Linked DNA regions of Homo sapiens: region 2 is linked to region 1. The links are contacts of gene promoters, found by promoter capture Hi-C in blood cells and fetal thymus (Javierre and others, 2016). All regions are on one chromosome and are shown on one strand. Each heading gives the region's core, a stretch centred on a gene start or on the middle of the fragment in contact. The rest is flanking DNA. Distances are from core to core; before and after follow the strand shown.

Region 1 (6,428 bases), core at 3,299-5,798:
AGGGGATTCTATAAGCCACTCATAGCAGTTCCACCCTCCTTCACTACGGCTAGATCCGGGGGACTAGGCCTAGGCCAATTAGGATCAGTAGGGAAAGCTTCTTGGCTTGAGAAAGGATGTGAGAAAGGTGCTCTCTCTTTTTTCTTTATTTTGAGATGGAGTCTCACTCTGTCACCCAGGCTGGAGTGCAGTGGTGCAATCTCGGCTCACTGCAACCTCTGCCTCCTGGGTTCAAGCAATTCTCCTGCCTCAGCCTCCTGAGTAGCTGGGACTACAGGCGCCTGCCACCATGCCCAGCTAATTTTTTTTTTTTTTTTTTTTGAGATGGAGTTTTGCTCTGGTTGCCCAGGCTGGAGTGCAATGGTGCAATCTCGGCTCACCACAACATCCGCCTCCCGGGTTCAAGCGATTCTCCTGCCTCAGCTTCCCAAGTAGCTAGGATTACAGGTATGCGCCACCACACCTGGCTAATTTTTTGTATTTTTAGTAGAGACGGGGTTTCTCCATATTGGCTAGGCTGGTCTCAAACTCTCGACCTTAGGTGATCCACCCACCTCGGCCTCCCAAAGTGCTGGGATTACAGGCATGAGCCACCATGCCCAGCCTCATTTTTGTATTTTTAAGTAGAGATGGGGTTTCACCAGTTGGCCAGGCTGGTCTCAAACTGCTGACCTCAAGCGATCCATCCACCTTGGCCTCCCAAAGTGTTGGGGATTACAGGTGTGAGCCACTGTGCCCGGCCAAAAGGTGCTCTCTTTTGCTGGATTTGAACAGGGAATTTTGTGGCCCTGGCTGTTCCTGGCAACCACCTTGACAACAAGTCTGATAATGGAGAAGAGCAGAGCAAGGAAGTCCTAGAGGAATGGCCGGGCGTGGTGGCTCATGCCTGTAATCCCAGCACTTTGGGAGGCCGGGGTGGGCAGATCACTTGAGCTCAGAAGTTGGAGACTAGCCTGGGCAACACAGTGAGACATTGTCTTTGCTGAAAAAAAAAAAATCAGCTGGGCATAGTGGCGCACACCTGTAGTCCCAGCTAACTGGGAGTTTAAGGTGAGAGGCTTGCTTGAGCTTGGGAGGTCGAGACTGCAGTGAGCTGTGATTGCGCCACTGCACTCTAGCATGGAGAACAGACTGAGACCCTGTCTCAAAAAAATAAAACAAAACAAAACAAACAAACAAACAAACAAACACACACAAAACCACACACAGAAAAAAAAGAAAATCCTAGAGGAATGGATCTAGGCCTCCCATCACACCCAGCCAAAAGCTAATGAATCTCTGGAAGTCCAGTTATGTAACCCAAAGGCATACCCTTAAGTGAGTCAGTTGCATTTCTGTTATCTCATTCAATTTTACAGTAAGGAAACCAAGACTTCGAGAGTCAATAACTCAAGATACCTTAGCTAGTGAAGTTAAGAGCTGGATTCCACTCCAAATGAGTCTCAACCCAAAGCTTTCACTCATCCTACTAAACTAAGCCAAGTAAGTGACTTGGCCTCCATTCCGATTCATCAGCTTACCTACTGAGATGGCTTCTCTTGTACATGCTGTTTCTACTGCCTGGAATGTTCTATGCCCCCTCTCTTTGCCTAGCAAACTCCTGCTTCTTTAAGGCCAAAGCTTAAAGAAATGTCACTTCCTGACTTCCTCCCCATCCTAATCTGCCAGATTATTTTAGATCCCTTGGCCTTATTAGCGTGTAAACTATATTAAAGTTATATCATGTTAGTTTCAATTTTTCCTTCATTGCTCTTATCACAATAACTGATCCATTATTGTACAATATTTTACAAATAATTTGTCTTTAAATTCCATAAGGGCACACATATATTTGTTTTGCTCAGCATTGAATCCTTGAAATAGTGACTGTCACTTAGTGGACAACAATAAAGATTTGATAAAATAAATGTGCTTGAGGCTGGGCATGGTGGCTCATGCCTGTAATCCCAGAACTTTGGGAGGTCGAGGTGGGCGCATCACTTGAGGTCAGGAGGTGAGACCATCCTGGCCAACATGGCGAAACCCCGTCTCTACTAAAAATACAAAAATAAATTTAGCTGGGTGTGGTGGCAGGTGCCTGTAATCCCAGCTACTTGGGAGGCTGAGGCAGGAGAATTGCTTGAACCTGGGAGGCAGAGGTTGCAGTGAGCCGAGATTGCACCATTGTACTCCAGCCTGGGCAACAAGAGCGAAACTCCCTCTCAAGAGAAAAAAAAATAGTGCTTGATGGCCTGGCGCGGTGGCTCATGCCTGTAATCTCAGCACTTTGGGAGGACGAGGCGGGTGGATCACCTGAGGTCGGGAGTTTGAGACCAGCCTGACCAACATGGTGAAACCCCGTCTCTACTGAAAATACAAAAAATTAGTTGGGTGCGGTGGTGGGCTCCTGTAATCCCAGCTACTTGGGAGGCTGAGGCAGGAGAATTGCTTGAACCCAGGAGGCGGACGTTGCGGTGAGCCGAGATCATGCCATTGCACTCCAGCCTGGGCAACAAGACCGAAACTCTGTCTCATTAAAAAAAAAAAAAAAGTGCTTGAGGCTGGGAGTTTGAGGCTGCAGTGAGCCATGATCATGTCACTGCAACAGAGTGAGACCCTTTCTCCAAAAACAAACAAACAAACAAACAAACAAAAAACTAAAAAACCCCTGAAAGCTATTGCTTTCAGTGGTAAAGTGTTGTATCAGTGGTTCTCCAAATGTGGTATCTAGACCTGCAGCATCAGCTTCATTTGGGAGCTTGTTAGAAATGCAAATTATTCAGCCCCATCTCAAACCTACTGGATGGGAAAGTCTATGAGTGGAGCGAGTAATCTTTGTTTTAACAGTCCTTCTGGGTGAATTGATTCAGATCACACTGAGGTTTGACAGGAAAGAAAAATAGCTCAGGGAAGTCTGAGTTATGTGAAGTATGCAAAATTTGTCAGGTCCACTGAGACTTGTGTATGGGAGTTCGGGCACACTCCCACCTCCACATGCTCGGGGACAATTGTTTAAAGATATTTTGTTCCAGACTAGCTGCCTCCCCCATTTCCTTCAGGTTCCTGAAATTTGTGATACAAAGAACAATGTATAGGCAATAGCTTATGTTATTTTTTCCCCCTTTCTCATCATTCCTATTCAACCTTATGTTATGCCTCTTTTTTCCTTAGAAACCCACTTGAAGCCAGGCGGGAGGGCTCACGCCTGTAATCCCAGCACTTTGGGAGGCCGAGGCTGGCGGATCACCTGAGGTCGGGAGTTCAAGACCAGCCTGGCCACTATGGTGAAACTCCGTTTCTACTAAAAATAAAAAAAATAGCCGGGCATCATGGTGGGTGCCTGTAGTCCCAGCTACTCGAGAGGCTGAGGCAGGATAATCGTTTGAACCCGGGAGGCGGAAGTTGCAGTGAGCTGAGATTGCACCATTGCACTCCAGCCTGGGCGACAAAGCGAGACTCCGTCTCAAACAACAACAACAACAAACTACACTCTAGTCTGGGCGACAGAGCAAGACCCTGTCTTAAAAACAAACAAACAAACAAGGAAACCCCATTTGTAACTGCCACTAATTGGACTATACTTCTGGTGGGCCATCTTCAAGCTTCGGGCTTGAATAAACCCTATACTTAAATACTATTTTCTCAATCTCGTTATTTAAGGTTGACAAGGGCCATTGGGTTACATAGATTTGCTCCAATCTATGTAGTAGGCACACCCGCGGGCTCAACCTCAGCTGTTTGGGATAGTTTCCTGACTGTTTCTTAAAATTAGCACTTTCAGCCTGGCTGGATGACTCATACCTGTAATCCCAGCACTTTGGAAGGCTGAGGCAGGAAAGCTGCTTGAGCCCAGGAGTTCCAGACCAGCCCAAGCATCAAAAGGAGGCCTCACCTCTGCAAAAAATAAAAAAATTTAGCTGGGCATGGTGGCGCACCAGGAGGTTGAGGCTGCAGTGAGCCATGATTGTGTTACCGCACTCCAGCCTGGGCAACAGAGCAAGAACCTGTCCCCAAAAATAAAACAAAATAAAGATGAGCACTTTCACGAGTAAAGTGGATTGGAGGATGGGAACAGGAATCCAACACATTCTCTGCCTCTCTCAGCACCTTGGCTATCGAAGTTACGTTTATCTCCCCTGTCCTAGCATCCACAGCAGGGCCTGGAATATAGTCGGGCAAGAGTGTGTGGACTGCATGAATGTAAGCTCCATAGGGCCGCGTGTCGTCACGCTGCCAGCTCGATGCTCCGCCCGTAAAAGGCACTCACTAAAATTTTAGCGGAATGAATGGGCGAAAAAAGCGAAAGGGAAACCACGCCTTTACTAAAATGGCAGCCCGGGCTCCCTTTACCAAGATGGCTGCCGGCCCGCGTGGACGCACGGGCGGTGGGCGCAGGGGGCGGGGCAAGAGAGGGCGTGGTAAGAAGGCGGGGCCAGTGGGAGCCGTCAGGTGCAGCCCCGCCCTCCGCCCTCCGCCCGCTCCCCCCGCTCGCCCCGCTCGATTCCGGATTGGTCCGGTTCCAGCGCCGCAGCCCGGCGGCCGCGCTGTGGGGCCGCCCGGCGCTCGCCACTTCCGGCGCGTTGGGGCTGTTGGTCGGGGGCGGCCGCGCGGTACTAGCGGGCGGCTCCAGGGCGGGCGCGCGCAAGGATGCTCTAGGGGGCGGCGGCAGTGGCCGTGTGGGTTGAGGCTGCGAGGACAGCGCGGGCCCCCGGGCCTCTCCCCTGAGCCGGCCGCCTGGGCCGCGCGGTCGAGGCCTGTCAGCCTCCGCCCGTTCAGCCTCGGGGCCGGGGCCGCCGCCACCTCTGCCCGCGGAGGCCGGGGAGCCCCTGCCTGGGCCCGCAGCCTCCCCCGCGGGGGTCGGGCCCGGGCGGGGGTCCCGAGCAGCTGCCCTCCTCGCCGGCATCCGAGCCTCATTTCCTGCTTTTTCAGTTTCCTTGGGGAGGGGCGGGTGGGTCTGGATGAATTGTCTCGGGGTCCCCCGATGAGGCGACCCGGGCGGCCCTGCCCTTTTTAGAGGGTCCCCTCGGGGCCCGGTGGGGAAGGGGTTGTCTTTGCATGGGTGGGGGACTTCCCGAGTCTGCCGGGACCATGACCTGAACTGTGCGAGCGGGACGTGTCCGAAGCCCAAGAACCAGCTCATCTGAGCCGCCCCCTCCCCGGCCAGCATGGTAAGTGGAATTGGAGCCCCCTTCCCTCCTGGGGTGCCCTACCGGAAGGGTGGGAATGGGCCCCGGGGCTGCTGAGCCATCGCTGCTCTCCCCATGGCGGGGAGAGGCGCGTGCGGAGCCTGGCCGGTGACACATGCGTGCAGAGTGTGCAGCCCCGGCCCTGCGCTCCCATCCCCCCAGGGATGATGGCTCAGGCCTGGGAGGGCCCTGGGAGCGCAGCAGGCACAACCCTTGCATCTGGTGTTTGCCTCCTGCAGCTCCTCCGGATAATAACTATCGTTTATTGAGGGCTTACTACTTGCCAAGGCCCTGCGCGAAGTGATTGACAGTGCAGTAGTATTTAATGATCACACCAGCCCTCTGTTCGGAAGTGGGGAGACTGAGGCACGGAGCAATTAATTCCCCAGCTCAAGGTCAAGCGACTTTTTAACAGTGTTAAGATTTGAACCTAGGCATCTGACTTTGAACCTAGGCATCTCTAATACACTTAGAGAGCTGGGTGATTGTAGGAGAAACATCTCATCTAGCTGTAGGTTTATATATGAGGAAACAGAGCGATTTACAGAGGTCACTTGCACAGGTGATGGCAAAGTCAGGAATGGTCGTGATCTTTTGACACTGAGGCTGCTATTCTACATGCTCTGATCTCTGCTGAAGCTACCTTCCACGTTTTCTAGACCGATACTTTCAATACTCCCCTAAATGTGTGTACTCACATCTCTTTGTGTATCCACATCTCCACGTTTTCTAGACCGATACTTTCAATACTCCCCTAAATGTGTGTACCCACATCTCTTTGTTAAGCATTTGCCTTTTTGCTCTTGTAATTATTTCTGAGCCTTATCTGTCTATTGCGGTATACACAGCTCCTTCAAAGACCAAATTGTTTGAACCCTTATCTGCTCCAGCTCCTGGCACATAGTAAGCCCTTGGTAAGTACTGGATCACCTAGCCTGTGGTTGAGCACCTCGAGGAGTGGAGCTGTTCTCCTCAGTTTCACCCATTTTACCCCTGCCAAGTTAGTGGTATAATAGAGAAAGGGACATAGCTGCATCTTTTGTGATACAGACCTTAAGGCCTGTGGAATTTTCGAAACATTCAAGGGGCCTGTGGGTAGTGTGTAGGTCCTGAGATATGGAGCTTACAACCAGCTGGGTAAAGTACACCATTAATGCTGAGCAGCACCGTACAGTATATGCTATACGTATAGTGTATGTGTTTTATTTTTATTTGTTTTGAGACAGGGTCTTGCTTTGTTTCCTAGGCTGGAGTGCAGTGGCA
Region 2 (6,471 bases), core at 603-3,102, 570 kb after region 1:
TTTCATTTGTCGTCCTCACTGCAAGGGTTTCAGAACTCAGAAGGAAGATAACAAGAGACAGGGCCCCCAACACTTCCCATTTTTACTTGTGAGATTTTCTGAAGGTGCTGAAGCTGCACAGGCCACAACAGGACACAGGATATGGTGGCTGAGTGAGAGCAAAGCCTCTGCTTTAATAATTGCAATGAACTTGCTTTAGAGACCTTTAAGGAACGCCCACCCCACAGTAAATTGCTGGAAGGCCAATCCCTTCACTAGCAATTTAATGCTAAGAGCCGATGACGTTCATCAAATCTGACAGCATTTTGGTAAACGACGGCTCTGTTGATTAGGCCGCTGTCCACCCAAGTATTACAAGGCTGAGGAAGCCATAAATCTTAATCCACAGATAGCAGCATAAAGATCTAAGGCCCAGAAGTGGTGGGGGGAAAAGGACAGTATGAACAAGAGGCCATACATCACCACCAGCCCATTCCACAGGGAAGGTGGCAGCTCGGGAGCCCAACACAGCCATCGCCATGATCCTCCCCAAACCCCCAGGAATCTGAGGGGCTTGGGAAGGGTTTTACAGGTGGAAGTCATCGGCTTCTTGGCCAGGAGCCAGAGTTGGGATGACTCTGTGACCTTCTGGTCAAGGGATCTGGAGGCCAGTGTACCTGACGCAGCCCCTCCTGTCAGGGCAGCTCTACCCAAATGTGCTTTCTTATTGTTGGGTGAGACCGTAAGAAGAGAAACCTGTTCTCCTGGAGGCGGTGAATGGATTGGGCTTGGTCAGTAGAAACAGGGTGTGTGATTCAAGAGAGTTTCAGGGCTGGGCGCAGTGGCTCACGTCTGTTAATCCCAGCACTTTAGGAGGCCAAGGTGGGTGGATCGCATGAGCCCGGGAGTTCAAGACCAGTGTGGGCTACATAGCAAGAACCTGTCTCAAAAAAAAAAAAAAAAAAAAATCCAGCAAGACAGCCAGGAGGAGAGTACAGAGGGTGAATGGGGAGGCAAGGGGGCTGTGTGGACTGTGAATAAGGCTGGGACTGCAGGTGCTCACTGTGCACTGGGACCACTGCATCCCACCACGGTGTCCCCTGCTGACCAATGTGAATACACAAGGCGACCGTGTGGCCCCACTGATACCTCCTGGTTGGCATGGCCCTACAAGTGAAACCCCAAGACCGGGAGAGGACTGTGGTCCCTCTCTTGGTGGAGCAGCTTTTGAGAACTGGCCACTGGCCACTGGGGACTTGGCTGCCTTGACCACTCTGCCTACCTTGGCTGCCCCTAAGCATGGCAGGAGCCCATCCAAAAGGGTTAGGATAGAAAGATTGTCTTCCTCTCCATCCCATGGACCCAAGACTCTGTCTCCATGGACTGTCTACCATGGAGAAACTTTGGACTTAACTCCACTTCTTGGAGCCAGAGCAAACCAATCCAGCCTGTCTTCCTCATGACGGTAATAATGGTATAGCTGGCACCCCCAGTCTATTCACTCTGCTACCTCCAGCCTTCTTGACAAGAAGCTATAGGACTCATGGTTCCTGCTCATGTGGCCAGGGCAGGCAGGGTTTGCACCAAATGAACTGGTCTCTGAGGGGCTCTAGTCATAGCCGATGGAGGTAGGAGGGGGTGCCTCATCCAGGCTAAGCAGCAGCAGCCCAGGCCATGCCCTGAGAAAGGGATGAGCTGAGAGATTCAGACTGTCTCTGTCTTGGAAACTTTCAACTAACAAATATGGAGGGAGTGTAAAACCGTGTGTGGAGAAGGCACGATGGATCAGGGGAACACTGAAGCTACGAGTTGGCGGCAGCTCAGGGACAGGGAACAGAAGTGCAAGGACGGGGGCTGGGGAAGGTTGGTGGAGAGAGACGTAGCCCTGCTTCAAAGGCTTCCTGGTCCTCCTGTAGCCCCTTGCTCCCATGGGCGGTCCTTTCTGCACACATGAACCCAAAATATGAACCCAAACGTGGCGCTCTACTGTTTCAACCCTCTTGGAAATTCTCACATTTAGATTGAAATCCAAACTTCCTCCTGTGGTCTTCTAGGCCCTGCATGGCCGGTTCTTCCTACTTGCAACCCTGACACCCTCATCCCCACCCTTTCTGCCACCCTGTCCTGATCGCCCTGCCTCCTCTCAGCCTGTGCCCAGTGCCCGCTGCTCTCACTGTCCCCTCACCTGAAAGCCTCCCCCAGCCACAGATCTTTCCGGGGCTGGCTCCAGGTAACTCTCAGGCCCTGGCTGCGATGCGGCCCCTTGGGAGGCTGTGCTGCCCACCTTCGCTGAAGGAGCGCTCCCCCGACAGCTTCTCTTTCAGGCTGCTGTCCTCTGTCCTTCCTTCGTAGCACTGTCTTCCGACTCCCTTGCTTGCCTTTGGTCCTTTGCCTTCCCAACCTCCCCACCCGCTCCCCATCAACATGAGCTCCAGGAGAGCAGGGCTGGCCTCACTTATTGCTTGGAACCCGGCATCTGTAAGTGCCAAAACTGAGTATGTGCTCAATACATGAGCACGGAATGAAAGAAGTAAAGTATGAGTGAGCAAAGGAACATACTAGAGTGAAGAGCCCTGAGGCCTCCAGGCTGAGCTGCCCTCCCCATCTGCCCCTCTGTGATTAAAACAACAACAGGCAGCACCATTCACTATTTCTCCTGTGCCAGGCACTGCTTCAGCTTCTCTCCAAACACAGACCCCACTGATCCTCATTAATTGCCCTCATTAATTACCATTACCAACCTCACATGACAAATGAGAGCGCAGGCACCAAGGGGTTAAGCGTCTTAGCCACTGTGCAGCTGGCAGGAGGCGGAGCCAAGGCTTTGCACTGGGGCTGCTGGAAGGTTCCAGGGTCTATGCTCTTAGCCATTCCTCTGGACTTGTCTGTCACCTGTTCCCACCTGAAGCAGCAGGCAGCCCCTGCTGAGACCACCTGTAATGCACGCTGCACATGCTCCCCTCCAGCAGCCCTGGGAGGTTTCATTGATGATGAAACCAAAGCTCAGAGTGGTTACACGGCCAGCTCCAGAGCACACAGCTCACAGAGGTTACATGGCCAGGTCTGGGGTGCACAGCTCAGAGAGGCTACACAGCCAGCTCCGAGACACACAGCTCAGAGAGGTTACTCAGCCAGCTCTGGGGCACACAGCTCAGAGAGGTCACATGGCCAGCTCCAAGACACACAGCTCAGAGAGGTTACACAGAGAGCTCCAGGGCACACAGCTCAGAGAGGTTACACAGCCAGCTCCAGGGCACACAGCTCACAGAGGTTACACGTACATAGCTCAGAGAGGTTACACAGCCAGCTCCAGGACACACAGCCAGTGAGCAGTCCAAAGCCTACTCCTTCCACTCTCCAGGGGCTACAAATTCAAATGCCCCAAAGAACCAGACGGGAAATGGAAACACGAGATAAGAGAAATCATAGCCTAAATCTGATAATAAACCACAGCTACCACTCAGCCTCACCACTGAAGCTCTGGGGAGTGGTGGGGACTTTGGCAAACAGGAAAGCTCATGCCCTATCCAAAGGCAGTAGCTGGACTTGGCTCCTGCTGCTGGCTGCCTAGTGGGGAGGAGGATGGCCCAGCGTGGGGGCCAGACTTTTCCATTTTTTCCAGGGAAGAAGAGATCTAGATTTTTGATTTTGAGATAGGGTCTTGCTCTGTCCCCCAGGCTAGAGTGCAGTGGTGCGGTCATGGCTCACTGCACCCTTGAACTCCTGGCTTCAAGCGATCCTAACTGTCTCAGCCTCCTCAGTAGCTGGGACTAGAGGTGTGCGCTACTATGCCTGGCTAATTTTTTTATTTTTAGTAGAGATGGGACTCACTATGTTGCCTGGGGTGGTCTTGAACTCCTGAGCTCAGGTGATCCTCCTTCCTCGGCCTCCCAAAGTGCTAGGATTAGAGGCATGAGCCATTGCACCTGGCTAGATATATTTTTAATATAAAATCTTGTTAATTTAAATGTTGGCAAGCTTCGAAAAGTCTTTTAAAAGCTGTATGAGCCCAACAACCATTATCTGGGGGCAAGTTTGACCCACAGGCTTCAAGTGGTTAACTTCTGGACCCCGCCAGGCCCGCCATCCATGTATTTGAAGTCAGGTGTCACACCCTCCTCCCAGTTAAGCAGTCCCCATGTCTTCACAGCCCGAGCTTCAAAGGCAGGAACTGAGCCTTCTTGAATTTTTTTTTTTTTTGAACCCTAGAGCCTTGCACAGTGCCTGGGCCCTGCTGGGTATCAATACATGTCTGTTAAATTAACAGATGATTTCATTCATGACACATGTAGTTCATTCACCACTTTTGAATGCTCCCTGGTTTGTGTCTATCTTTAAGGTTGGTTCCCAAAAGCCTGGGTGTGTGGAGCAGAGTCCATGCTCTAGACTGGAGGGGGCCGGCTCTCGGTACCCATCCCACACTCCTCCTGGGGAGCCTTTCTGTGGGGTAGAGGCCAGAAAGCCAAATACTGCATTTCCCAGACTCCCTTTCTAAAGCTGTCCTCACAGGGTTAACAAGAATTCTCACAGAATATAGTTATAATTCAGCATTAATCACTGCACTTTGACCCACTTCCTTGTAACTGAAATTCACTGGATACTGACCATTAGCATTCCCATTATTCCTTATAGATTTCTGACTGTAGAATCATTAAGGCTTTTGTTTAAGAATTGCTTAAGATGTTTTTCAGATCTTAAATTCCAGCAAAACAACTCACGCTAGCCAGTTTGAAGGCCCCCCACAGAAGAACGGGATCTGCGTGAGAACACAGCTTCTTCATCTCCCTGTCCCGTGACTTCCCCCTGCACTCTTCCACCAATCAATGATCTCCACACATCAGCCTACTCCAAAACCCTTAAAAACACTGGCCCCAAACTCCTCCGGGAGACAGATTTGAGGTTTCCTTCCATCTCCTCGTTTGGCGGCCCTACAATTAAATCTCTCTCTCTGCTGAAACCCAGGGTCTATGTGTATAGACTTGCCAGCATCGTGCAATGGACCTATTATGGTTACATTTTGGCTTGGGTTCTGGGTGTGATTTAGGTTCAGCCAATCAGATGGCCTCACACGAGCCAGGGAAAGCAGAAGTGAGGTGAGGAGAGGAGGGGGATAGATGTTGGCTGTTTCAGTGCTAAGCACAGGGCATGGAGTTCTTCCATAATGTTCCTGACTGGCTAGCCAGGCTGCGGGGCAGGGTCTTCATAGCGCTGTCCCAGCAGGCATGGAGTCACTCTGAGGCCAACAGCTGGGGCAGTAACTCCCTGATTCCTGGATTGCAGCTAAGGTGACACCTTCCTGATGCTGATACCCCACCTTCCCAATGGTGTCCTAGGCAGCCGCTCTCCTGGCAGGCCCAGGCTAAGTGGCCATGCTTTTGAGGCACCATTCCTAGAGGCCCAGCCCAGAGTCCCCTCCTCATGCTAGCCCAAGGACTTCGTAAGCACCCGACTCCCTGCACTGCATTTGTTTCTGCTTAAAATAGCCTGAGTGGTCTCTGCTGTTAGGCACTGACTGACCCCTGACTGATACAGTGTAGAAGGACAATTACAGCCCTCGAGGCATCAGGAAATCAGGAAATTAGCTATGATTAGGCCCTGTGAAGTGTGGGACCACAAGGAGAGACTGAGGAGGATGCTAATTAATCTTAGGCCAAGTTTTTTAAATTGCACAGACTCTAGGGCCAGCTATTAAGCCACAATCTAAGACACAAATATGGCTCCTGATAATAGAAGGCTCTCAAAACAAGTAGAAGAACTGTCTTAAGTGAGAAGTGAAGAAAGGCCTCATTAGCAACAAATTAATATTCATTGCAGGGGACAAAAGGAGGCCTCCAGGCTGTGTGTCCTCCAGGCCTTGCTCCTCAGCACTGAGATCAGGCAGGGACACCCTTCCCCAGTTAATCAATGACTTGAAGATGCCCCTGTGGGGAGGCAGAAAGATCACTGGGTTTATAACCACAGCCCAGAGTTCAAATCCCAGCCTGCCCTCTTCCTTAGTAGCTATGCAACTCTAAGGAAGTCACCTTACCTCTCTTGGCCTTGATTTCTTCAGTAGCACAATGAGGACATTTTCTGACCTACAGGATTATTGTGGGTGGGCTGATAAAGGGTATGAAAGCATTTAACTATAGACCCATACATTTAGTACAGTGTGAAATCGTATGTGGTAGTAGTTCCCAATATTGGTGAACACAAGTTAAAAAATAACAACAGGCCTGACGTGGAGGCTCATGCCTGAAATCTCAGCACTTTGGGAGGCCGAGGCAGGAGGATCACTTGAGGCCAGAAGTTCAAGACTAGCCTGGGTAATATAGTGAATAAAAATAAGTAAAAAAAAAATAAAAAATATATAAAAATAAATAAAAATGTATTTAAATTTTTATTTTATATAAAAAAATAAAAAATATAGTACAAAAATAAATTTTAAAGAGAAAAAATTACAGTAATTTAAAAAATAACACTGCTTAAGCCTCAGCAAGTCAGAATCTCCGG

The links. Contacts are between HindIII fragments. The CHiCAGO score rates a contact against its expected background, and 5 or more counts as called.
Region 2: a fragment that was not itself captured here is called in contact with the fragment with the promoter of XPO6 in region 1 in 1 of 17 cell types (megakaryocytes); the score reaches 5.3 in megakaryocytes.

Annotation. Positions count from the first base shown.
Region 1 is chr16:28,210,085-28,216,512 of GRCh38, reverse strand. It overlaps XPO6 (exportin 6), which reads left to right and starts at 4,548. Exons shown (of 24, transcript NM_015171.4): 1 at 4,548-5,147. The coding sequence starts at 5,145. RefSeq lists a silencer at 4,311-4,800 and an enhancer at 4,430-5,428. The HindIII fragment of the contact is 3,886 bases long and covers 3,584-6,428 here.
Region 2 is chr16:27,633,312-27,639,782 of GRCh38, reverse strand. All of the region lies in intron 5 of KATNIP (katanin interacting protein), which reads right to left. Among named protein-coding and RNA genes, the nearest start is that of KATNIP, 86 kb to the right of the region's middle. RefSeq lists enhancers at 2,463-2,963, 5,444-6,130. The HindIII fragment of the contact is 4,214 bases long and covers 1-3,959 here.